Regions from separate parts of the Homo sapiens genome. Here regions 1, 2, 3, 4, 6 and 7 are each linked to region 5. Evidence: promoter capture Hi-C in 16 types of primary human blood cells and fetal thymus (Javierre and others, 2016). All regions are on one chromosome and are shown on one strand. Each heading gives the region's core, a stretch centred on a gene start or on the middle of the fragment in contact. The rest is flanking DNA. Distances are from core to core; before and after follow the strand shown. Region 1 holds the start of MRPL10 (mitochondrial ribosomal protein L10). Region 2 has its middle 4.9 kb from the start of COPZ2. Region 3 holds the start of PNPO (pyridoxamine 5'-phosphate oxidase). Region 4 has its middle 29 kb from the start of MIR10226. Region 5 holds the start of HOXB8 (homeobox B8). Region 6 holds the start of PRR15L (proline rich 15 like). Region 7 overlaps CDK5RAP3 (CDK5 regulatory subunit associated protein 3).

Evidence for each region. The method cuts DNA at HindIII sites, captures the fragments that hold promoters and counts their contacts. A CHiCAGO score of 5 or more calls a contact.
Region 1: the fragment with the promoter of MRPL10 here is called in contact with the fragment with the promoter of HOXB8 in region 5 in 8 of 17 cell types (activated CD4 T cells, total CD8 T cells, neutrophils and 5 more); the score reaches 10.9 in activated CD4 T cells.
Region 2: a contact is called between a fragment that was not itself captured here and the fragment with the promoter of HOXB8 in region 5, in 2 of 17 cell types (total CD4 T cells and total CD8 T cells). The highest score is 6.1, in total CD4 T cells.
Region 3: a contact is called between the fragment with the promoter of PNPO here and the fragment with the promoter of HOXB8 in region 5, in 5 of 17 cell types (neutrophils, naive CD4 T cells, total CD8 T cells and 2 more). The highest score is 10.1, in neutrophils.
Region 4: a fragment that was not itself captured here is called in contact with the fragment with the promoter of HOXB8 in region 5 in 1 of 17 cell types (neutrophils); the score reaches 5.6 in neutrophils.
Region 6: a contact is called between the fragment with the promoter of PRR15L here and the fragment with the promoter of HOXB8 in region 5, in 1 of 17 cell types (neutrophils). The highest score is 7.9, in neutrophils.
Region 7: a contact is called between a fragment that was not itself captured here and the fragment with the promoter of HOXB8 in region 5, in 1 of 17 cell types (total CD8 T cells). The highest score is 5.4, in total CD8 T cells.

Annotation. Positions count from the first base shown.
Region 1 is chr17:47,830,198-47,832,897 of GRCh38, forward strand. It overlaps MRPL10 (mitochondrial ribosomal protein L10), which reads right to left and starts at 1,344. Exons shown (of 5, transcript NM_145255.4): 1 at 1,263-1,344. The coding sequence starts at 1,314. It overlaps LRRC46 (leucine rich repeat containing 46), which reads left to right and starts at 1,473. Exons shown (of 8, transcript NM_033413.4): 1 at 1,473-1,802; 2 at 1,903-2,008. The coding sequence starts at 1,793. RefSeq lists enhancers at 1-757, 758-1,587 and silencers at 1,050-1,109, 1,350-1,509. The HindIII fragment of the contact is 9,003 bases long and covers 1-2,700 here.
Region 2 is chr17:48,041,354-48,044,053 of GRCh38, forward strand. It overlaps a transcript of COPZ2 not described here. Among named protein-coding and RNA genes, the nearest start is that of COPZ2, 4.9 kb to the left of the region's middle. The HindIII fragment of the contact is 1,467 bases long and covers 718-2,184 here.
Region 3 is chr17:47,940,131-47,942,830 of GRCh38, forward strand. PNPO (pyridoxamine 5'-phosphate oxidase) reads left to right here and starts at 1,441. Exons shown (of 7, transcript NM_018129.4): 1 at 1,441-1,683. The coding sequence starts at 1,546. It overlaps SP2-AS1 (SP2 antisense RNA 1), which reads right to left and starts at 1,274. Exons shown (of 3, transcript NR_103857.1): 1 at 1,217-1,274. RefSeq lists an enhancer at 1,193-1,487. The HindIII fragment of the contact is 3,059 bases long and covers 291-2,700 here.
Region 4 is chr17:48,002,042-48,004,741 of GRCh38, forward strand. No RefSeq gene overlaps it. Among named protein-coding and RNA genes, the nearest start is that of MIR10226, 29 kb to the right of the region's middle. RefSeq lists an enhancer at 1,047-1,601 and a silencer at 1,342-1,636. The HindIII fragment of the contact is 5,978 bases long and covers 1-2,700 here.
Region 5 is chr17:48,613,936-48,616,635 of GRCh38, forward strand. It overlaps HOXB8 (homeobox B8), which reads right to left and starts at 1,357. Exons shown (of 2, transcript NM_024016.4): 1 at 346-1,357. The coding sequence starts at 769. The HindIII fragment of the contact is 787 bases long and covers 1,028-1,814 here.
Region 6 is chr17:47,956,562-47,959,261 of GRCh38, forward strand. PRR15L (proline rich 15 like) reads right to left here and starts at 1,322. Exons shown (of 2, transcript NM_024320.4): 1 at 1,096-1,322. RefSeq lists enhancers at 1-935, 936-1,881. The HindIII fragment of the contact is 8,015 bases long and covers 1-2,700 here.
Region 7 is chr17:47,975,334-47,978,033 of GRCh38, forward strand. CDK5RAP3 (CDK5 regulatory subunit associated protein 3) reads left to right here. Exons shown (of 14, transcript NM_176096.3): 6 at 1-4; 7 at 181-320; 8 at 536-680; 9 at 1,379-1,489; 10 at 2,499-2,577. Among named protein-coding and RNA genes, the nearest start is that of CDK5RAP3, 5.6 kb to the left of the region's middle. RefSeq lists an enhancer at 66-566. The HindIII fragment of the contact is 8,194 bases long and covers 1-2,700 here.

The DNA of each region.
Region 1 (2,700 bases), core at 94-2,593, 780 kb before region 5:
CAAGTTTCTCTTTCCTCCTCTCTTCCTGTTTACAGATAATGCTACAGAGCACCCCACAGAAAACAAGGGAGGCACTCAAAAGCCCTGAGACAAAGTGACCACTTAATCCTCAACACAAGGGCCAAGACTAGAACTTCCCACTTTCAGTCATTTCCAAGACTGGGATGTGACCTCAGAAAAAGGTCCAGATAGAAGGCGGCTCTAACAGTCAGAGAGTATGGATATTTGCTGGGGTAAGAGGTCTTATTGCCAGCAGCCACAAAACCTAACTGTTAAGACTGCAGGCAGGCTTTGGAATCAAATTAAACTGGATTTTTTTTTTTTTTGAGATGGAGTCTCGCTCTGTTGCCCAGGCTGGAGTGCAGCAATGCGATCTCGGCCCACTGCAACCTCTGCCTCCTGGGTGTAAGCGATTCTCACGCCTCAGCCTCCTGAGTAGCGGGGACTACAGGCACGCGCCACCACACCCGGCTCATTTTTGTATTTTTAGTAGAGTTGGGGTTTCGCCATGTTGGCCAAGCTGGTCTCAAATTCTTGACCTCAGGTGTTCCCTCCGCCTCAGCCTCCCAAAGTGCTGGGATTACAAGCGTGAGCCACCGCGCCCAGCCGAAACTGGATTTTAATCTCTCTTCCGCCAATTACTAGCTGTGACCTTGGCCACCCAACTGGTCTGAACTTCAGTTGCTGCGTCTGTAAAGAGGAGATGCGAATGTCTTTCTCACAGGGTGCTTTAGATTTAAATGATTTAAAAGATTTAAATGAGCTAACACATATAAAAATAGTTATCACAGTGCCTGGCCTATATTAAGTGCTCAAATCCATTCACTAAACAAATATCTACCGCACGCTTACTAACATCCAGCACCATGCCACCTGCTGGCTATGCTGAATGAACATGGTTCTGCCCTTGCGGAGTTTAATAGAGGAAACAAGCAACTAAACAAATGCAAAATTACAGATTGCGACGGGGCTAAGGAGTCAAGGGAAGACCTGAGGTGACATTTAGACTGACACATTAAGATGGAGACATAATGCAAAGGTCTGGGCGAGGAGTGGTCCAGGCAAAAGAAACGCTGGAGACAGACAACATCTGGACGTTGTTGCTGTGATTACCAGTCGAGTCACAAGGAACTGGACGGGGTAAGGAGGCCAGCGATCTAGCTGGGGTCAGAGATTATGGGAAGAATCAGTAGTAGAGGAGGGCAGATGAGGACTAGAGAGCGGCCGCAAGACACGCCGTGAGGACCTGGGCCACTCCTTACCCGCCTGGGGCAGGAGACCCCCTCGCAGCATCCCCGCCACGGCCGCAGCCATCTCCACCGGAAGAATGGACGGAAGCCGAGTGGAGACGGAAAGAGCTAAGGATTGTGGGGTAGCGAACCCCGGGGCCGGAAGCAGTGGGCGTACCCGCCGGCTGTAGCCGTAAGACGCATGCGCTAGGCCGGGCCAACGGAGCCCGCCTTTACCTCCCCACTCGGCGTCCAGTCTCTTAGCAACGACTCCGGCTTCCTAGGAACTGCTCCTTTCTCAACCATTCCTGCCCACAACACCCCAGCTTGCTGCCAGCAAAGCCCCTCCACACCCCTCAAACTCCAGACCCTTCACATCAATTTACTGTTTTCTTCGACCTCACCCCAGCAATTTTCTCTGAATCAACCCCCTTTCCTCCTCTCCTAAGTCTCTGAGTTTCTCTCTCCTCCTGCCATCCTGAGTTCTGCCATCCTTAGGGGCCGCCAAGACCTCTCTTTTCGTTCCTCTCCCGCCTCAGACCAGCAGCCTTTTATTTTAGATCATGTCTGGAGGTGAGTAGGGAGGTGGGACGGTGGGTAGAGCAGTTGGAAAACAGCGGGGTAAGGCCTCCAAGAGTGAGGAAGTGTCACAGTTGGACTCATCTTTTCACAGGGAAGTCAGCCCAGGGTCCAGAGGAAGGGGGCGTCTGCATCACTGAAGCCCTTATCACTAAGCGGAACTTGACTTTCCCTGAAGATGGGGAACTGTCAGAGAAGATGTGAGTGCATGGGGGAGAAAAGGGGTGCTAGAAGGCTGAAACACTCAGGATGACCAGGTCCCTGACGTGTACTGATTTGTCAACTGATCTTTGTTTCTCTCCTTACTCCACACATTCAATCAGTGGTAATGCCCAGCTGATTTTCCCTTCTTCAAAATAATTCCATTTCTTTTTCACCATCCTCACTCAACTGTCTTAGATAAGGCCGTGTTCACCTCTCTCCTACACACCCACCACTTTGGGAGGCTGAGGCAGGAGGATCACTTGAGCCCAGGAGTTTGAGACCAGCCTGGGCAATAGAGACAGAATCCTATCTCTAAAAAATAAAAATAAACTAGCTGAGCATGGTGGTGCACACCTGTAGTCCTAGGTGGCTGAGACAGGAGGATCACTTGAACCCAGGTACCTGTGGCTGCAGTAAGCTATGATCATGCCATTGCATGCCAGCCTGGGCAACAGGGTGAGACCCTATTTCTAAAACAAACAAAAAGTAAAGTATTTTTAATTACTTTTTTAGAGATGGGGTCTTGCTCTGTTGGCCAGACTGGTCTTGAACTCCTCAAACAATCCTCCCACTTCAGCCTCCTGAGTAGCCAAAGTGATCCTTTTAAATAACAAATCTAATCAGGCATTCACTGATAGAAACTTCCTCCCAAATAAATCCCAATGCCTAAGCATGAGTTGACTTCTGC
Region 2 (2,700 bases), core at 201-2,700, 570 kb before region 5:
AAAGTAGATATTATATGAGTTGGGGATAAGTGCTGCAAAGAAAAATAGAGCAGAAATGGGATGTGGAATGTGAGGGGTAAGGGACAGGCAAGCCAGAAAGCCATTTTCATAGTCCTCTGAGAAAACCTTTAACAAGGTGACATTTGAACAAAGAGCTAAAGGAAAGGAGGAAGCAGGCCATGCAGACATCTGAGGAAGCATCTACTGACCCTCCCTATATGATGACTTAGAAGGCACATCTGAACCTTTCTTGCAGGCTATCAGTTATAATAGGGAACATAATGACACTATTTGATAACAGCAGCCAGGGAAAAGACCCAGCATTTGGGCATTTTATTTCTTCGGATTCCAGATCATCAGAAGTTATGTCAATGGTCATGCTGGCTGGGTATGTTATTTCTAAAAAATACTGATTTGGTTATTTTGATGTCTTAATATTTCTGTGAGCTAGTCCATTTTTTTTTTTTTTTTGGCTCATATTTACAAGGACAGCACCAAAAAGCCTCCAGGAGCATTTCTCAGCCTCTGTTTGGCTATGGTACCCACTATGAAAGACCAGCAGCCTCCAGAAGGGACAGAGGAAGACCTGGGAAGATAGGGGACTTAGGGGGCTGGCTCCATAGGGGAGGTGGGGAAGGAGTCAGTTATACACGTTAGGGATGGGAAGGCACTGGAGAGGGGCCAAGGGGATAGGAATGAGAGAAGGCTGGGGAAGGAAGCTTAGGAACCACAAAGTTCTCATCACCCCCACATCTATCACTGTTGTTGCTTTTTCTTTTTCTTTTTTTCTTTTTTTTGAGAAGGAGTTTCACTCTTGTTGCCCAGGCTGGAGTGCAATGGGGTGATATTGGCTCACTGCAATCTCCGCCTCCCAGGTTCAGGCGATTCTCCTGTCTCAGTCTCCTGAGTAGCTGGGATTACAGGTATGCGCCACCACACCCAGCTAATTTTTTTTATTTTTAGTAGAGACAGGGTTTCACTATGTTGTTTGGCTGGTCTTGAACTCCTGACCTCAGGTGATCCGCCTGCCTTGGCCTCCCAAAGTGCTGGGATTACAGGCGTGAACCACCGCGCCTGGCCTTGTTGTTCCTCTTCTTAAAATCTCTTTACATCTTTTCTTTTTTTTGAAATGGAGTCTCACTCTGTCGCCCAGGCTGGAGTGCAGTAGCACGATCTCGGCTCACTGCAACCTCTGCCTCCCGGGTTCAAGCAATTCTCCTGCCTCAGCCTCCCAAGTAGCAGGGATTACAGGTGCGTGCCACCATGCCCGGCTAATTTTTGTATTTTTAGTAGAGACGGGGTTTCACCATGTTAGCCAGGTTGTTCTCCAACTCCTGACCTTAAGTGATCTGCCCACCTTGGCCTCCCAAAGTGCTGGGATTATAGGCGTAAGCCACCGTGCCTGGCCCATAAAATCTCTTTACATCTTAGTTTAGTGGTGAATAAGTAAATTCAGAGCCAAGTTCAACTTTTCAAGGACAAGATTCTCCCCAATGATAACCCCTCCCCAAACTCCTTCAACAGAGACCCCAGAACTTCTTTCTCTCCATGACAACCGCTTCCCCACACATCCTGAAGTGCACCTTTAATGCAGTTTCACATAAACATGTGAGCTATGTGTGTCCAGTATTGGGACAGTGTCTTCCACAGAGCATGGCCCTAAGAGGACTTTCCAGTTTAAGGCTGGCAGCACATGAGAAGCATGCACGTGCAGCAGCAGACTCGGCAGGAGAGCCTCCCCAGCTCGAGGAAGCCAAGTTGGGTTCAAAAAGAATGCAGCCTTCATGTTTCTCTGCCCTCTACTCCCTTCGGGTAGGCACAGTAGGATGGAGAGGTGGGCTGTGCACATCCCTACCCAGCTGGAACCTGTGAAGTAGTGCACTCAGAATTGGTCCCTGCCCTTTGGAGTCCCAGGAGGCAGGTGATTCAAAGCAGGTTCTCCTCTGGGCCTTGGTATAGCTTGAAGGGGAGACCATTTCATTTCCTCTGAGTCACCCTCCTGCTGCCACATTTCTGTGCTGTCTGTCCTAGGATTTCAGCATCTGTTCTTATGTGACGAGAAGAAACAGCTCCCTTGGGTACCAGCCTCTCTCTATCCCTCCTGCTTAATGTCAAGAGGGGGAGGTGTGTGTGGAATATGAGGCGTGGAAGTGTGTACTGGTGGCATCCTCTAGAGAAAACTAAAGCTTCCATGCTCTGTCTGTAGGATGGGTTTCTAGTAGACCATTCTAAGGACAGCTCTCATTTCTTCATCGCCTTTGGCTTTCTCTGAGATAAAGTTGTAGGGTGGGTGGAGAGAGGATTATTCAAGACAGGGCCTTATACTCAGCTCTTCCTCCAGGCATGAATGGCTTTATACACATGACCTGATTTTTAAGATTTATGAATATGTACATTGTTATCTCCATTTAGCTCGGGATGGCCCAACTAGTAAGAAACAGAGCCAGATTTTCGAACCCACCTATGAGTCCAAAACATCCACTCCTCCTACCTCTTAATGGCAGCTCCTTGAGTGTGACATGTCACACAGAGCTATATGAAGAACACTACCTGGTATTGTTTGAGACAACATAGCAAGACATACAGGACAGTTGAACTCAGCTTCAAAAAATGTTACACTAAGACACTAATGAACAATGAGGCATTTTCATTGTAGAGGTGAAGAAAGAACATTTTAGGGTTGAGAATGAGCACACCCTA
Region 3 (2,700 bases), core at 191-2,690, 670 kb before region 5:
GTTCCCCTTACCTGGCACAGTCCTGGGTGCCTGCCTAGATGGCTCTTGCAGTTCCCCTTCCTGATGCTGGTGGAAAGCAGGGCTACAGAGAGGTCTCGACCCAAGGCCGCCCCAGCCAGCTCAGAATTGGACTGGGCATGAGTGGGTTTCCCATTTTTCAGCCTTGCATCCACAGCCTGGAAAGGCTATGCACAGCCACCTGCTCAGTGTACTCTCAGTTGGCAATTGCTTGCATTGACCTAGGGGCTAGACTCCTACTACCTAGCATGGGCAAAATGTGGAAAAAGGGAAGCTTGACAAAGATTGGGGAGACCCTGGAGAAATGGGACATTGGCAGCCTTGCTATCTACCAGGACACTGGCTCCTATGAACTCCAGTGCACCATGGCAGGGGAAACCATGAGCAAAGGGAGTAAAATGCTCTGACCCTTGCTTAAATAAATGAGGCTGGAGGGAAGGGGTTTAAAACTAGAAGAGGTGGCGGGCGCGGTGGCTCACGCCTATAATCCCGGCACTTTGGGAGGCCAAGGCGGGTAGATCACTTGAGATCAGGAGTTTGAGACTAGCCTGGCCAACATGGTGAAACACCGTCTCTACTAAAAATACAAAACTTAGCCGGGCGTGGTGGCGGGCGCCTGTAATCCCAGCTACCCGGGAGGCTGAGGCAGAGAATTGCTTGAACCCGGGAGGTGGAGGTTGCAGTGAGCCGAGATCGCGCCACTGCACTCCAACCTGAGCGACAGAGCTAGTCTCCGTCTCAAACAAAACAAAACAAAACCAAAACTAGAAGAGGAAAACCACTCTGGTCTGGGATACCTTGGTCCCAAATTTCCTTCTTCCCCCTTCCCATTCAGCCATCTTCCTTCTCACCTCACCGTCTCTTCCTCACCCCACTGCACCTCCCCACTCGGGGCATGGTCCACAAGTCATTTCAACCTCTCCCACTCTCATGCCCTAATTTCTCCCCACAACCAGATTACCCTTTTCTCTATGTGTCCCCATCACCTTGCCTCAGAGTCTGGCCCCTAATTCCATTTTCCATTTTTCTTTTCCCATTCCACTAGTCTCCCTTCCCAGGGGGTACTTCCTGCCCTAAGCTCACCTACAGGCACCTACTATGGGCCAGCCACTTAATACTGACTACTCCCCTCAAGCCCCCGGGACACATCCTCCGCCCCGCCTGAGCTGCAAGAGATCCTCCTATACCTTTAACCAACCTCCACGTGCGTGTTAACCGCGGTGACAGCATTTCCTTGTCTCTCTGCTCCCGCCCCCAAAGGCGCTACCCATTGGCCGCTGGGTTCCTCTGTTCTCGCTCTAATTGGCCTCGTTACCGAAAAGCTCCAACCAATGACCTCTCCGTGTCTGTCTCCCTCCTCCGATCCTGGAAACTCATTGGCTCCGAGGACTTAGGACCTGTTAGCTTGGTTGGGCGACTGGCAAATCCTTCCTTCCCCGGGGTAGAAGTCCAGGGTGAGAAATTGGTTCCGAACTCAAAGGAACCCAGTGCCGGGCCACAGCCGGGTCACGTGGCCGGCGGCCCCCCATGACGTGCTGGCTGCGGGGCGTCACGGCGACGTTCGGGCGACCTGCCGAGTGGCCAGGCTACCTCAGTCACCTGTGTGGTCGCAGTGCTGCCATGGACCTGGGACCCATGCGCAAGAGTTACCGCGGGGACCGAGAGGTGCCGCCGCTAGGGCCAGGCCTCCTGCAGGGGCGGGGGAAAAGGGGTCCCCGGAGTCATCTACAGCGGGGAGGGGAGTAGTAGGAGCCCCTCGGGGCTTCTGGGGCCACCCGGTGGGGCAAGGAGGTTTGAGGATCACCCCCCGTGGGAAAAGGGGGCTTCAAAGACATCCCACCAGGGGAGGAGTTCCGGGGAAACGCAAATGAAGATGGGTTCAAAAGGCAGCCTTTCGTAATGGGTAAGAGCTCGAACTTTGGAGCCTGCCTGGGTTGGAATGTTTAATGTATCTGGGCCTCAGTTTCCTCATCTGGGAAGTGATAGTATCTGCCTCACGGGGATGTTATGGTCTAAGATGTTTGTAAAGTGCTTAGAACCCTGCTACTCGACAGGTAGCAAGGTCAAATAACTTGCTCAGTCCCACAGCTAGTGATGAATGAATCGGGGTTTCATGTGATGGATGTCAGGACTGTGCTGGGCCTCCCTCAAGGGCGGGGGAAGAGGGGTCCTCGGAGTCATCTACTGGGGGGAGGGGAGTAGGAGGAAACAGCCCCTCAGGGCTTCTGGGGCCACCCCCTGGGGCAAGGAGATTTGGGGGTCACCCAAACCTCCTTGTGCCAGGTGGGCATGGTCATGGGCCCCTCTTTAGGTGGGTACAGTGACAAACAGCTTACAAACTGTTTGACAAAAAAGTAAGTGGAATATGGGGGAAGGGGACTAGCTCGGGGAGGAGGGGAGGAGAAAGCTCTTAGCTTACTGCCTTCAGTACTTTCTGCTGACCACTGGGAAGTTCTTTTCCTTTTCGCTCCTCAGGAGGGGAACCAAGAGAACCTTTTAGGAATTGGGGTCCAGGGCCCTGGTTGCCAAATCTGGTTGCATGTGGGCATTTCTAGAAACGCTTGTTTAAAATGCAGTTTTTCCAGCCTGGGCAACATAGTGAGACCCTGTCTCTACAAAAAATTAAAATTAGTCGAGCATGTTGGAGCGTGCCTGTAATTCCAGCTACTTGGGAGGATGAGG
Region 4 (2,700 bases), core at 90-2,589, 610 kb before region 5:
TTGGGATGGTAAGATGGGGTGGGGCAAAGCCTCCTGAAGAAATGAAGGGTCGGGTATGGTGGCTCATGCCTGTAATCCCAGCATTTTGGGAGGCCGAGGCAGGCGGATCCCTTGAGCCCAGGGATTTGAGACCAACCTAGGCAACATAGCAAAACCCCATCTCTACAATAAAATAAAATAAAATAAAATAAATAGCTGGGTGTGGTGGCGTGTGCCTGTAATCCCAGCTACTCAGGAGGCTGAGGCAAGAGAATTGCTTTAGCCTGGGAGGTGGAGGGTGCAGTGAGTGGTGTTTGTACCACTGCTTTCCAGCATGTAGCAAGAGAGTGAGACTCAACTGGAAGGAAGGAAGGAAGGAAGGGAGGGAGGGGAAAGAAGGAAAGGAGTGCTAATTTGCGGACTTAGGATAAGTAGCAGTTAGTCCAAGGATGTGGAAGGGAGGGTGGAGAGCAAAGATCCTGGCAGAAAGACCAGCATATGTGGGGCTGAAGGCAAAAAAACAGAGAATGCTTGACAAACTGAGTGAAAATTCATACAGTCGGGCACTCTGCCTCACAAATCCTTCTGTCATTTCTACAGTTCTCCCAGAAACCCCTTGAAACTCGCCTGTGACTCTCTAGGCTCCCTGGAGTCCAGAGCAAGACAAAGAACTTTTGTCTGATCAGCTGAGATATAATGAGAATGACCCCCAGGTTCCTTATTTATGCATCCGGCATGCAGCTTGCTTTTGTAAGAATAGCACTGTATTGCTGACTCATAGTCAGCCATGCATTTTACAATAATCCCACAATGTCTGCCCTGGATTTTCTTTCTGCCTAACTTCCTGTTCAGCCTTCTTTTAAAAAGCCTTGCCTCTGTGCTCTCTTTTTACTTATCTCTTTCTTTGAAATGGATCACGTCTAGAATTTGTGGGTTTCAGGGAAATCTGCCATCCCAAGGGTCCTTCTCCAATGAAATTAAGGTCAAATTGAGATTTGGAATTGAAAGCTGATTAGTCTGAATGCCCACATCTTAGAGCATCTAACCAATCTATCTGCCCATCAGGGTGACTGATCCCATCCCTGTCTTATTTGCTGCTGTGGGGGTGAGGGCAGGGGGTGGAGAAGGATGGAAGCAGAGTCAGCGCCAGACAGTGATGTGCCACGCAGAATAGAATCTCTGCACAGCGTCTCCTGGAAGGGGGAGGGGGGCAGATGCTGACAGACTCGTGGGAGCCATGCCAAGAGATGGGTCTGCCTGGGTCCCTGACTAAACCAACTAACTCTTCCCAAGCTGATCAGGCTGCAGGGCCAGAGCCCCACTATTCTTCCCTGGGATCCCAAGTGAAGCAATGGGGGCCACGTAGGAATTCATCGGTCAATGCTAGTTTGGTGGGTGAGGGTGGGGAGGTTGGGGAGGAGCAGGCGCGGGGGTGGGTGTGCTTGGATTCGCTCATGGGAGCTGAGCCAGCCCCAGCAGGGAAGAAGGGTCGCTTTGGCATTCATTCTCCTGCAGTTACCAGGCCTCGCCGCCTGCCGGGCTGCTGGTGCGCAGGGCCCAGCCCCCTCCCCAAAGAGCCCCTGAGAGGGGCCAGGAGTGGGGGGAAGGCCACCCGTGGCCTTGTGAGACTGAAGCACAAGCTCCTTCCTCAGCTGCCAGGGAAGAATTTAATTACCAATTAAAGCCCCCTCCATCTGTTTCGGGCCTGCCAGAGAGCTCTCTCTACCCTTTAATTACATCTCTGACAACAATTTAACTCAATTAGCTGGTAAACACAGCAGAATGCAGGCAACCCAGGGCACCCTCTTGTCCCTGCCATCTGTCTGTCCGTCTTGTGCTTTCCCAACTCGCTCTCAGTCTGTCTGTCCTGCCCCTGCTTCCCTGTCTCATTTTGACACCGCCCCCCACCCCTTGGTTTTCTCTTTTTCTTCTGTCTTCTCCAGCACCTCTTGTCTGTTTCACACCAGCTGGGTTTCCCCCGCCCTCCGCGTCTTTGTCATTCTGTCTTCCTCTCCCATCTGCTCTTTGTCCATCCCTTTCCCGTGCTCTGTCTTGTTCTGTGCATCCCAACTTTCTCTCTTACTCTGCCAGGCTAGTCTCCAATGAGCCTTTTCCTTCCCCTTTCCTTCTCCCCGTCTTCTTCCTCCTTCTCCGCCATCTGTCCTACATTAACCAAATCCATCCCTTTCAGCATCTCCTCTGTGAGCCTCCTTTCTGGTGTGTTTCCCTTAACCCCTGCCATCTCCTTTTGCTTCATCCACTTAGCACAAACAAAGGTGAGCCCTAGGAGCAGTAGTTGCCATCTTTTGAGCACTTACTTTGCCAGTCATTGGCTAAGAGCTTTACATGCATTATTTTGTTGAATTTTTACAAAAATTGTGTGAATGGGTATAATTATTCCCATTTCACAAGTGGAATAATGGATCCTCTGAGAGATTTTGCCACTTATCCAAGGTCACAGAGCTTGCAACTGATAGAACTAGGATTCAAAGCCAGGTCTGTTTCCTTCAATACTGCATGAGATACCCGAGGCTGGGCACAGTAGCTCATGCCTGTAATCCCAGCACTTTGGGAGGCCAAGGTGGGCAGATAGCTTGAGCCCAGGAGTTCGAGACCAGACTGGGCAACATGATGAGACCCCCGTCTCTGCAAAAAATATAAAAATTAGCCAGAAGTGGTGCATGCCTGTAGTCTCAGCTACTCAGGAGCCTGAGGTGAGTG
Region 5 (2,700 bases), core at 107-2,606:
ACTATAAAGCAATTGAGAAGTGCAAAAGTTGAGCGCCCCCACTCCCACCACCCTCTCTTCACTACCCCCCATAAAACAGTAAAAGGGGAAAAAAAGGAGGAGAAGAAGAAGAAAAGTAAGGCAGGATGAGGGGTTTATAGATTCAGGAAATGTTTCTAAGCGACCCCCTTCAAGGGAAAGAAAAAAGAAAGAAGAAAGAAAGATAAGAAAGAAAGGGGAAAAGCGGCAGGCGATCGGAACGGAGCCGGCAAGTCTTCCAGAAGCTGGAGGAAATGCGCCCCGGCCTGCCAGGCCTTGGGCCCTTCCGGCCCCCTCCTGCCCTTGTCGGCCCCGAGGCGAGCTCACCTTGCGGGCGCATCCAGGGGAAGAGCTGTGTGGGCGACGGGCTCTGCTCGGAGCCCTCGGCCTCCTCGCCCAGGCCGCTGGCGGCGGCAAGCTTGCAGTCTGCGTACTGCACCAGGTCTGGATCCTGCGCACCGAATAGGCTCTGGCGTTGCAGCGGGTCGTAGCCGTAGAAATTGCCGGGGTCCCCGTGGCACGCCACGGCGCACGGGTTCTGCTGGTAGGGAGCCGTGGACAGCGACGACGGCCCGTGGTAGAACTCCTGGATTTGCGACGGGTGCTGGAAGCTGCCGCCGCTGCTGGGACCGTACACCACGGTGGGTCGGCCGCCCAGGTCCTGGGCGAAGCCGCAGTCATAATAATTGGGGCGCAGGGACTCCCCGGTTTTGTATTTGGAGAACAGTGAGTTGACGAAATAAGAGCTCATTTTATTGAATTTTGAGGCGGCGGCGGCGGCGGAGGCTATAGTTGGGGGCTGTTGGGGAGGGGGTGGGGAGGGGGAAAGGGAGGGAGAGAGAGAAAAAAACGCGGATTCGCCGGCTCCTAGTCACCCTCGCCAGGAAAGGAGAGGGAAAGAGAGGAGGGAAAAAAAGAAAAGAAAGAAAAGGCGAAGAAGATCTCGAAGCCGACACACTTTTTGTGGTTTCCAGGAATAGAAAAGGACAGAGAAGCCTCCAAAAGTCTAAGCTTGCATGGCAGCCGCGGCTCGCTCGCCCTCCCCCCACCCCCCACCCCCCAAACAAAAATATACCACCACTTAAAGAGGTCCTCGCTTTACATTTCGAAGAAGGGATGCCAGTTCATAAACAGTTTTCGGTGATTTACTTCCCTGCAAATGAGTTGTTTCATATTTTGCACTGTCTTTTCATGATCATTTGCATCCATTAGAGACCCCGCATCCTATTGGCTTCTTCGTACTCCTCCCGGACAGAACGCAGAGCGAGGGTGAGAGCGAGAGAGAGCGAGCGAGAGAGAGAGCTAGAGCGAGAGAGCGCCAGGGAGTGAGGAGAGAGCGGAAAAAAAAAAAGGAGGGGAAGAAAAAAACACCCAGGGAGAGAGAGGGGGAGAGGGGGAGAGAGAGGGGGAGAGGGAGAGGGGGTGAGAGAGAATGAATACGGATTAAATCTGTTTAACTACCTACATTAATGAGATATCTCTCGCCTCACAACAAATCAAATACCTTCGCAGACCACCCCCAAAGACTGATGTGGGGGAGTCACGGAAAAAAACACGCACACACACATACACAACGCGCCAGGCGTAGGCACGCTGTTAATTTCGCGATTTTAACGAGGCAATTGGAGTCTTTCTAAATGTCAGGGTCGCTTCGGAAAAATGTAAAAGAACACGGTTTAATTGCGCCGAGTTTTAAAAGGTCCTATAAATGTAATTGGTATTTTAATACAAGTTATCAAATCATACAGCTTCCTCTCCTAAACGTATTTTCAAACAAACGAGGTAGTCATATTTAAAGCTTTAATGATCAATTTCCTTATTATTGATAAAGGTTTAACTATCGTGTGGAGGGAATTGGCTGGATAACCGGCCCCCCAAAAAACGGCTGTAAACTCTTTAAGAAACTATAAAACGCAATAAAGCCGGAGTCTGTTGTTGTTTATGCCGCAGCGCATAAAAGCTGTTAGCATTTTACGAGTTCTTTCCTCTACAGCTATAAAACTGCAGCTTCGATCGCCCCCGCCGCCCGATTGCAGCACGGTGGGGGTGACGAAGCCGAAATGAGAATGATTATGGGGATTTTTTTTTGGCACAAACGGTGACTTTTCTGAGATTTTCACCTCCTTCCGTCCTGGCAAGCACCTGCCCCCACCCCTTCTCTGGAGCCCCCAAAAGGTCCCTTCTCTGCCCTGCCCTCTCTGCCCTGCCCTGGCCAGTCACAAAACTTCCTCTCATTAAACAAATAAGCAAAAATTTTCTGTGAAACAGGGATCTGGGAGATCTTGAGGAGGGAACGGGAGGGAAGAAGAAACTTTCTGGTTAATGAGCAGTGGTTGAAGCACAGAGCAAAGTTCGAGCTGCCACTGCCGATTCTGCAGGTTTGTGCACTCTCTGCTTGCTGAAAAGGGGGTCTCCTGAAGGCCCTTCAGCCCATCAGCACTTTTGAGGGCAGACTTTGCATGAAGGGAGAGGGCCTGATGCCATCAGAGGGATGAAGCCCCAATGGGCTACCCGACACTTGCACCCAGGCCTTGGGACCCAGTAGCCAAGCCCAATTATTAATAGCTCCCAACCTTCCCAGGCCGACCCCCACACCTTCTGCAGTGCCTAAGGGTGAGAGGGGACCACTGAGCCCATCACTGCATCAAAAGGAAAGAAGGTTGGGTATCAGGCCCTGGCACC
Region 6 (2,700 bases), core at 72-2,571, 660 kb before region 5:
CAGGTGTTTGCCCCATTAGCAAGCCTGACTTATGGAAATCTGAGTTTGCAAAATGGAAAAATTAGCCGACTATTCTTTGTTTTACAAAATAACCCAGCTGTAGGATCTGTAAATAGTCATCATAAAAGATAGTGTAAAATCTGATTTGCTTTAAAAACAAGCAAACAAAAAAGGTGATGTGATATCCAAACTTCCCAGTTTCTCAAAGTTGCAAAGAACAAGATATCTACAACCGCCTGCCTGTGCCTCACCACAGAGGGCTGAAAGGGGTTGGGGGAGTGGGGGCAGGTGCTTGGGACTTCAAACAGACCCAGCATTTAGTGACACATGGTGGGCCCTGCAGTTAGCTCGTGCAGGTTCCTGAGCTGGCCGAGCTAAGGGCTGGGCCCTTGCCCTGGGGCCTTGCAATCCAGGGATGATGGAAATCAGCCCCTGAGGATGCCAGCTTCACCTCTGCTGTTTGCACAGCTTTGGGGCCATGAAAGGCCTCATGGGACAGCCTGCCACCCCCTGTCTTTGGTGGCCAGCGCTATAGCATGCACATGGGTGTCCCAGGAGAGGCCCCTCCATACCAGCTGGGTTCTGTGAGCTGCTCTGAAGGGCTTTGCCCAGACTGAGCCAGGCCCCTCCTGAGCTGGGTCAAGTTAACCATTGACTGGGGCAGAGGTGGAGGGGCAGGGGGACAGATAGGGGAAGCAAGTCAGCTAATATGTTGTAAGACAAAACCCCAGAACTCCCTCCCCCATCCCTCTGCAGGGCCCCAATGGCACTTAGGGGGCCTGCAGGATGAGACAGGGGTACCCTGGATAGGAATGGGGAGATGTTCCTACCAGACAGCTGGAAAAATGCTCCAGACTGGGGGGTCAGAAGGGTGGGCTCCAGTTCAGCAAGGGTTAACAGAAAACTACTCAGCAGGAGCTCTGTTGGAGGCCTGGATTGACTCCAAGAGGCCAGTGGGATGAGTCTTGAGTGGAGACCAGGTTAGAGGCCTGGGTTCCTCTTTCCTGCTGGGCTTGTCAGCCCTGGAGGCAGAACCAGGTGCTCTGACTGGGGTCTATGCCTTGGTTTCCCCACCCACCAGCCCTCTGCCTGTACCTGTAATCCCGACTGCTCCAGGCTGGAGGTGAGACCTTTCCTAGAGAAGCAGTTGAGTGTAGGAGCTGCCTGGGAGGGTGAGACTCGGGAAGCAAGTGGTGCCTCCGGGCTGCTGTATCAGGCAAGGCTCAGCCAGGAGAGGTGGGTAGGAGCAGCTGCACGTCAGGTGCAAGAGAAACAGGTGCAAGAGCTGTTACCTGCTCTGCTGCAGCTCCTGGAGTCAAGGTGAACCTGAAACCCAGCCCCTCCCGGCTAAGTAAACAGAAGCAGAGGCCGGCTCAAGCTGATGAATATTCATCATGCCAGAAATCCAATCCCAGCGCCCCTGCATCCACCCAGAAGCCAGGGTTCTCCAGGGACCGCCACGCAGGAGGAGGGAATCCCAAGGGAGATCTGGGGTCAGGGAGCACAGGAGGCTCTCGCTCAGTTTCCCCACTCTTGGGTGTCTGGTTGCACTTCCCAGCTATAGCCAGGGTCACCCCACCCATTTCATCTTCTGAGGAGGCGCAGACCCCTCTCCAGCATGGACCACCACCTGGATGTTGCCCAGGGCACAACCAGGAAAGAGTTAAGGGCTGCTGCTTCCATTGGCAGGCTGGGTAGGACGGGGTGCACCCCAGCTTCCTTTGAACTCCCTGAGTCGAAACCAGTCCCGGTTAAACTGGTTGGCAGACCGGTTCCCAGGCTGTCCCTCCCCTGCCTCAAGCCTCAAAGTGGGGACTGGGTTGGGGGCTGTGGCTTCCTCCTGACCTGAAGAGCCCCTCTTCAAAAATCTCCCTAGGGAGAAAAAAAAAAAGGGCACAGCCTCTCCTCGGGCCAGGCTCTCCAGACCCACCACAACCTCAAACATTGTCATCCCTCTCCCACTTTGCTTGGAGGTGGGCTTCAAGGCCCTTGAGATCTTATGCAGAATTCCGTGTTTGTGGGCAGAGGGGCATTGCTTTTTCTGCATAGATTATACTTTTATCAGACTCTCAAAGAGACCTGTGCCAGTGTCCCCACTAGCAAAGTGCCACTGGCTTCAACTCCTCCCAGATGTCCAGCAGTCTATTGAAAGGGCCTTCCTGGGTATTATAAAGTTGGCAAAACCTGGAGCAAGTTCTCAAGGAAAGGAGAGATGGGTCCCTAGTGAGTCTGGAAGAGAAGGAAGGGCAAGAAGGCAGGGGATGGGCACACGGTTGGGGACAGGGGTAGAGTGTGTGTGCACAGGGGCCTTCGTCCTCACCGATCTGCAGTCTCATTGCCCCTGCAAACCCACCATTGGCCAAGCTGTGTGCAGCGCTCAGCCAGGGCTGCTCTTGCAGATGGCTCCGTGTCTGGGGAGCGTTGTTTTGCAGCCACCCGGAGGTGGCCTGTCCTATTTGCGCTTGCATTCTCTCTCCCCTCGGATGGGCATCGCTGGAGAGTGGAAAACATCTGCTACATACTCAGTGTCTCTGCCACTTCCTGGGCCCAGTGCTACCAGCTTAGGTGCCCAATCCACCCACCAGCTACCTTCCTCCATGGACCAGGTGTGCGTGTCAGGCAAAGGGTGAGGCACGGGGTAGAGAAAAGGCATAAAATCCCCCCTTTCCCTGGCTCTCCCTCTAAGTTACATTTGAAATC
Region 7 (2,700 bases), core at 67-2,566, 640 kb before region 5:
CACGGTGAGCGGCGGCAGCCTCTTCGCAGCCAGAGGACACCTGGGCCCCTGCTTGTCTTCCTCTGACCCCGTCTGACCCCTCAGCCTGGTTGCACCCCCTTTGGGCCAGTGTCTTACTTTTCTTCGGTCTTTGGATGTTTTCTTCAATCTGTTGGACTCCACCTCTTCTCCCCTCTCTAGGGCGAAAATGTCCGAGGAGAACTGCTGGCCCTGGTGAAGGACCTGCCGAGTCAGCTGGCTGAGATTGGGGCAGCGGCTCAGCAGTCCCTGGGGGAAGCCATTGACGTGTACCAGGCGTCTGTGGGGTTTGTGTGTGAGAGGTAGAGAGGCCTCAGCTTCTCCTGGTGGGGGTGCTTTGCCTGTGTTCCCCAGCTCATGACCCTTCTCCAGTTGTCTTGTTCCCATATAACATTTGAACTCTTTACACACCTGAACCTGTGGGGGCCTTGCCCATTTGACCATGTGGCCCAGGCCAAAGCCCAGTGTTGGCCTTACGCATGGTCGGCAGGAGAGTCAGTTGTGTGCTCTGTTGAAGCCCCACAGAGCAGGTGTTGCCAATGCTGCGGTTCGTGCAGAAGCGGGGAAACTCAACGGTGTACGAGTGGAGGACAGGGACAGAGCCCTCTGTGGTGGAACGACCCCACCTCGAGGAGCTTCCTGAGCAGGTGGCAGAAGATGCGGTAAGATGGGCCTTGTGATGAGCTGTAGGAGTGGAGTGGGAGCTGCTTGTCCCCTCCCCACCCCCAACAGCCCAACCCAAGACCCAGAGAGAAGAAGGGAGGATTTCTGTGAGAGTGACTGTAGGTAGAAGGGCCCAGGAGGCCCTACTCCTTTATTTTTCTGAGTATAGGTGAGTGAGTGCCACAGAGGCTTTGCAAGGTGGTTCGCTTTGAACTCGGAACCTCCATCATGTGAGCTCTCTGAAGATGGGCTTTCTTTGGGGTAGCTTAGAGGCCACTGCATTTGAACAGTGTGCTCTCTACAGAAGCAGCTGAGGCCTGTGGGAAGGCAGCCCCACCCTCCTTTTTAAATTAATTTATTTTTGAGACTGGGCCTTGCTCTGTTGCCCAGGCTGGAGTGCAGTGGCATGATCCTTGCTGACTGCAACCTCTGCCTCTCAGCCTCAAGCGATCCTCCCAAGTCAGCCTCCAAGATAGCTGGGATTACAGGTTTGCACCACCACTCCTAGCTAATTTTTTATTAACATCTTTGTAGGGACAGGATTTTGCCATATTGCCCAGGCTGGTCTCAAACTCCTGGGCTCAAGCAATCCACTATCCTCGGCCTCCCAAAGTACTGGGGTTACAGACATGAGCCACCATGCCCGGCCCTTTTTAAATCCATCTTCCATGAGCTAACACTCTCTTTCCCTTTCCAGATTGACTGGGGCGACTTTGGGGTAGAGGCAGTGTCTGAGGGGACTGACTCTGGCATCTCTGCCGAGGCTGCTGGAATCGACTGGGGCATCTTCCCGGAATCAGATTCAAAGGTGAGGAGGCCTTCTCAGTCTGTCTCTCTCTGATCACTACTCTAACCATAAGAAAAGTGTCATTTGTGTCTGTAACGGCATCACTTGAAGTTCATAGCTCTAAGACCAGGTATAGTCCAAGGGAGGCAGAGTTTCACACGTCACATGTCAGAGTTTTGTTTTGTTTTTTGAGACAGAGTCTCATTCTGTCGCCCAGGCTGGAGTGCAGTGGTGCAATCTCGGCTCACTGCAACTTCCGCCTCCCAGGTTCAAGTGATTCTCCTGCCTCAGCCTCCCAAGTAGCTGTGATTATAGGCGCCCACCACCACACCCCTCTAATTTTTTATTTTGTTTGTTTGTTTGTTGAGACAGAGTCTCACTCTGTCGCCCAGGCTGGAGTGCAGTGGCATCATCTTGGCTCACTGCAACCTCTGCCTCCCGGGTTCACGCCATTCTCCTGCCTCAGCCTCCTGAGTAGCTGGGACTACAGGCGCCCGCCACCACGCCCGGCTAATTGTTTTGTATTTTTAGTAGAGATGGGGTTTCACCATGTTAGCCAGATGGTCTCGATCTCCTGACCTCGTGATCCGCCCGCCTCAGCCTCCCAAAGTGCTGGGATTACAGGCGTGAGCCACCGCGCCCGGCTAATTTTTGTATTTTTAATAGAGACAGGGTTTCGCCGTGTTGGCCATGCTGGTAACTCCTGACCTCAGGTGATCCACCTGCCTCGGCCTCCTGAGGTGCTGGGATTACAAGCGTGAGCCACTGCGCCCAGCCCATGTGAGAGTTAAATTTTGATGTCCTTTTTCTTGGTGTTTGGTACAGGGTGTAGGGGTAAAGGCAGGTGGGAACACTACAGAGCAGGGATGATGGGCCATACTGCCATTTTTGGCACCTAAGTCAGGGCTGCAAATCCTTAATAGAGTTGGAATGTGCAGCCATTGACCTCATCAAGGGCTTTGGTTTATTCTGGCTCCTTGGCTCAGGAAAATTCTCCCCCCATTGCTGTGGTTCTTTGCTCTCCTTCCAGGATCCTGGAGGTGATGGGATAGACTGGGGAGACGATGCTGTTGCTTTGCAGATCACAGTGCTGGAAGCAGGAACCCAGGGTAAGTGCACCATCCCCTGCAGCCCTGGCAAAAGTGGGGTGCTCAAGGGCCCCCACGTGTCTAGAAACAAAAAATGCAGCGCTAAGATGAGGCTTCTTGCACATTTAACTGTTTCTCAAAACC